Regions from separate parts of the Homo sapiens genome. Here region 1 is linked to region 2. Evidence: promoter capture Hi-C in human tissues and cell types (Jung and others, 2019). All regions are on one chromosome and are shown on one strand. Each heading gives the region's core, a stretch centred on a gene start or on the middle of the fragment in contact. The rest is flanking DNA. Distances are from core to core; before and after follow the strand shown.

Region 1 (2,700 bases), core at 150-2,649, 130 kb before region 2:
CTAGCATCAGAAAGCTAAGCCTGTATTCAAAATAGATGCCTGCCAGGTGCAGTGGTTCACACCTACAATCCCAGTGCTTCAGGAAGCCAAGGTGGCCAATCCTGGTTTGAGGCCAGGATTTCAAGACAAGCCTGAGTCACATAGAGAGACCCCCTAACTGGGTGTGATGATGCATGCCTGTAGTCCCAGCTACTTGGGAGACTGAGGAGGATCACTTGAGCCCAGGAGTTCAAGATTTCAGTGAGCCACTGTACTCCAGCCTGCACAATACTGTGAGACACTGGCTCAAAAAAAAAAAAAAAAATGCCAGAGCAACATAAAATTGTAAGCATTCATTACCTTTCTGCCACCATGCATTGGGGAAAGTGGATCCCTCAGCTGATGCTGACCATTGGCAGACAGGATGGTGTGTGTGGAGATGGCGGGAGGGTCTTAGGGATGTGGGATGAACCCTGACACCATCTACTACCCCATCCTTCACTGCAGACCCAGTTCTACCAGTTCTCATCAAAAGGGTGAACTGCATCCCAAACACAGTCCACATTCTGTGGCTTCCATTCCTGAAGACATCTCCAGAAAGTCTCAGAAGAAAATTAAACTATATGAGAGAACAAATCTTTTCTATCGTATAATTATTACATGTTCTACAATCTGGGGTTAGATCATAAAACTGCAATTATGGGAAATAAAGGTCAAATAAAGAAGGAAAGAAAGAAAGACAAGAAGGAAGGAGGGAATGAGAGAAGAAAGAGGAGGGAATGAGGGAAGAAAGAGGAGGGAATGAGGGAAGAAAGAAGAGGAAAGGAAGAAAGTAAAAAAGGAGGGAGGGAGGGAAGAAAAGGAATAATCACAAAGAAGGAAGCAACGTCTCAGTTATTCTAGGCAGTTCATTACTATGAATCATCAGAACAAACAAGCTTACAAATCTACATTCCTAATTTGATGTGAAAAATCACATCACTGTTCTTATGAAATAAAGGATAGCAAAGTTGGAGTGTGGTCTCAACGTCAAGTTGCCAGGTTATAGTTCACCTCTATCTGCTTCTTCCTTTGTGGAACAAGGTGAATGAGAAAAGACATGTCAAAGAAATGTTTTCAGGGCCAACTGTGGTGGCTCATGCCTATAATCCCAGCACTTTGGGAGGCCGAGGCAGGTGGATCACTTGAGGTCAGGAGTTTGAGATCAGCCTGGCCAACATGGCAAAACCCCATCTCTACTAAAAATACAAAAAAAATTAGCCAGGTGTGGTGGTGCACACTTATAATTCCAGCTACTTGGGAGGCTGAGACACAAGAATTGCTTGAACCCGGGAGGTGGTTGCCGTGGGCTGAGATAGCGCCATGGCACTCCAGCCTGGGTGACAGAGTGAAACTGTGTCTCAAAACAAAACAAAACAAAAACAAAAAGAAAGAAATGTTTTCAGGATTAAATAAAGCCATACATGTAAAGCAACAAGCACAATCCTAAAAGGGAAACACGTTGCCTTGACTATTGTATGATTTTCATCCAATTTCTTCCAGAGGAAACAAGAACACAACCAAGTTTAGGTGAAGGGTGCTAACATGCAAATGGGTAATTTTTGAGGAAAGCATGTCATCATATCAGCACTCGATATGATAAGTGTTTCAAACAACACGTGAGAACTCTCAAGAGTGGCTCTAAGAAAATGGACCAAAGATGGAACTTTAAAGACTGTATATAAAACGGAAAAGTTAGAAGGAAATTACCAAGGGAGTTACTGAGAGAACCTAAAGTAAAAACATGTAGCAAAAGCCAAATCACAAGTGTTTTGGGAAGAGTAAAAATGAAGCATGTGATTTTCAGGAGAAAAAGAGCCAGGATATTTATTTCTTGTTTTCTTTTAGTTTTGTAGTTGTTGTTTTTGAGACAAAGTCTCACTCTGTCGCCCAGGCTGGAATGCAATGGCGCAATCTCAGCTCACTGCAACCTCTACCTCCCAGATTCAAGCAATTCTCCTGCCTCAGTCTCCCAAGTAGCTGAGATTACAGGCACCCACCACCACACCCAGCTAATTTTGCATTTTTAGCAGAGATGGGGTTTCACCACATTGGCCAGGCTGGTCTTGAACTCGTGACCTCAAGTGATCCACCCACCTCAGCCCCCAAAGTGCTGGGATTACAAGCATGAGCCACCAAGCCTGGTCGAGCCGGGATATTTAAATTCACATTTGCCTAATGGACCTACAACATCCACTTAGTTCTGAGACCTTGATCTGTCATGGACAAGAGGCTGGTCTGCTGAGGAACTGAATGTTCATGAGCAGGGCTCTGTCAAACATAATCTTGCCTTTGTGACCTTTTTATAAACCCAATGATCTCTCTGACAACCACCACTTAGACAGATTGAACCCTAGGCTAACACATTCTGCTGCCAAGTGGATGTTATTAATAAGGTGTTTCACAGCACAACAAACTAAACCCTTCCAAGAACAAACTCGATGCAAAGGAAAGTAGATTGAACCCTACTTTCTGCCATGTACAAAAATCAAATCAAATAAAAAACAGATCAACAGGCCTGGCGCAATGGCTCATGCCTGTAATCCCAGCATTTGGGTGGCCGAGGCGGGTGGATCACTTGAGGTCAGGAGTTCAAGACCGGCCTGACTAACATGTGAAACCCCATCTCCATCAAAAATACAAAAATTAGCCAGGCGTGGTGGCGGGCACCTGTAATCCCAG
Region 2 (2,700 bases), core at 185-2,684:
CTCACTGCAACCTCTGCCTTCTGGGTTCAAGCGATTCTCCTGTCTCAGCCTCCTGAATAGCTGGGATTACAGGTGTGCGCCACCTCGGCTGGCTAATTTTTGTATTTTTAGTAGAGACGGAGTTTCACCATGTTGGTCATTGTGGTCTTGAACTCTTGACCTCGTGATCCGCCTGCCTCAGCCTCCCAAAGTGCTGGGATTACAGGCGTGAGCCACTGTGCCCAGCTAGTTTACATGTAAGACCCAAACTTGCAGATGGCTTACAGGTTAAGGGTTTTTTGTTTTTGTTTTTGTTTTTTTTTTTGAGATGGAGTCTTGCTCTGTCACCCAGGCTGGAGTGTAGGGACACGATCTCAGCTCACTGCAACCTCCACCTCCTGGGTTCAAGCGATTCTCCTGCCTCAGCCTCCCGAGTAGCTGGGACTACAGGTGCCTGTCACCACGCCTGGCTAATTTTTGTATTTTTAGTACAGACAAGGTTTCACCATATTGGCCAGGCTGGTCTCAAACTCCTGACCTCAGGTTATCCACCCACCTCAGCCTCCCAAAGTGCTGGGATTACATGCATAAGCCACCACGCCCAGCATCAAATCTCATCTCTACTAAAAATACAAAAATTAGCCAGGTGTGGTGGCACTCGCCTGTAATCCCAGCTACTCTGGAGGCTGAGGCACAAGAATCACTTGAACCCAGAGGCAGAGGTTGCAGTGAGCTGAGATGGCGCCACTGCATTCCGGCCTGGGTGATAGAGTGAGACTGTCTCAAAAAAAAAAAAAAAAAAAAAAAAAAAAGAATAAGAAAGAAAGAAAGAAGAAAAAAGAAAACCTTCATGTTGGTTATACCTGTCTTCTGGCACAGCTGCTGGCATTCACCTACGCAGGCTTTCAGCTTGCTTACCTATGCTTGCAGCTTGATTTTTCAGGCTACTTTTTGCCTGAAAAGAAATGATTTGGGGGCTGCTTTTTATTAAAAAGAAAAACCTTACCCAGGACTTCTGTACCCTCACTAACTGCCTAAATAATTTCTTTTTAATTCATATGCTATTATTAGGTTAATTTATAGCTACTTGTGGCAACAGCAAGCAGTTTTATGAGATGAATGCATAGTTCAAAGGAGGGGAGGAGGGGTGTGGTTTCTGTCTCATTTTAATGTCTTTCCGGGTCTGACAATGAAGAGAACTCACATTCTTCAGATCAAAATCCTTTTTTTTACTAGACGAATGGTATGTGTTCTGGGAGCAAGATTCGTGAAGTGGAGGTGAGCAGAAACAATGGAGAGATATGGATGGTGTACACGTGGCCTCAGGGGACAGGGACTCAGCCATCCCGAATTCCTCACTCCTCTAGTCTTGGTCTTTAAGGATGTGCACTCCTGGGATCAGAACGATGGTAAAATAGCCAGTGTAATGAGGAGCGTTGGATATTGAGGTCCCAGGGATATAGACAGTGCAACAAGTCAGGCTGTAAGCACCTCACTGAACATCTCTTACCCAGCTCGGAAGCTGCATCAGAACCTCCTTCCAGACATGATATTTTTGACCAGGACTCGAGTCTGTCTGCACTTCCTGAGGATAGATCATCCTCTGCAATATCCATGTGAGTTGTTGAGCATCATTTTTGTTGAAGCCAATCAGTTAACCCAAAGTCCTTTAGTTAATTAATGCTTTGGAAATGAGGGCAGGTGGTTTTGTTTTTTGGGGTTTTTTTAGAGACAAGGTCTCACTCTGTTGCCTGGAAGGAGTGTGGTGACTCGATCATAGCTCACTGCAGTCTTGAATTCCTGGATCAACCAATCCTTCAGCCTCAGCCTACTGAGTAACTGGGACTACAGGTGCATGCCATTACACTTTGCAAATTTTTAAATTTTTTTTGTAGACACAGGTTCTCACTACGTTGCCCAGGCTGGTCTTACACTCCTGGCCTCTTGTACTCCCGCCTCAGCCTCCCAAAGGACCCGGATTATAGATGTGAGCCACAGTGCCTGGCTATATAAAGCTTTTAAAATGCAACACAATGCCATTGTTATTATTTGGAAGAATAATATCAAATATAATGAAAGGTATAGAAGAATAATATAGATCAAGTGTGTGTACTGGTTCCCCTAGGGAAGGGAAAAAAAATCAAAAACATGAAGCGGTGGTTTTGAAATATGCACTTTTTTTTTTTTTTTTTTGAGATGGAATCTTGCTCTGTCACCCAGGCTGGAGTGCAGTGGCATGATCTCGGCTCACTGCAACCTCCGCCTCCCAGGTTCAAGCGATTCTCCTGTAGAGACGGAGTTTCACCATATTGGTCAGCTGGTCTTGAACTCCTGACCTCAGATGATCCACCTGCCTCAGCCTCCCAAAATGCTGGGATTACAGGCATGAGCCACCATGCCCAGCCTCAAATACACACTTTATTGCAATAAAAATATTTTTTACTTTTTGCAATAAAAATATCTAATCAAGGATGGTGAATTGTGTGAATTTTTTTTTTTTTTTTTGAGACACAGTCTCCCTCTGTCACCCAGGCTGGAGTGCAGTGGCACGATCTCGGCTTACTGCAACCTCTGCCTCTCAGGTGCAAGCGATTCTCCTGCCTCAGCCTCCCAAGTAGCTGGGGTTACAGGCGTGCACCACACCACCACACCCAGCTAATTTTTTTGTATTTGTAGTAAAGACGGGGTTTCGCCATATTGGCCAGGCTGATCTCAAACTCT

Evidence for each region. Contacts are between HindIII fragments. The study calls those that stand out against the background at their distance.
Region 1: a fragment that was not itself captured here is called in contact with the fragment with the promoter of OR7G2 in region 2 in 4 of the 25 tissues and cell types used here (H1 embryonic stem cells, adrenal gland, dorsolateral prefrontal cortex and 1 more).

The regions. Positions count from the first base shown.
Region 1 is chr19:9,240,949-9,243,648 of GRCh38, reverse strand. It overlaps a transcript of OR7E24 not described here. Among named protein-coding and RNA genes, the nearest start is that of OR7E24, 8.6 kb to the left of the region's middle. The HindIII fragment of the contact is 9,125 bases long and covers 1-2,700 here.
Region 2 is chr19:9,106,209-9,108,908 of GRCh38, reverse strand. It overlaps OR7G2 (olfactory receptor family 7 subfamily G member 2), which reads left to right and starts at 1,434. Exons shown (of 2, transcript NM_001005193.2): 1 at 1,434-1,595. The HindIII fragment of the contact is 11,921 bases long and covers 1-2,700 here.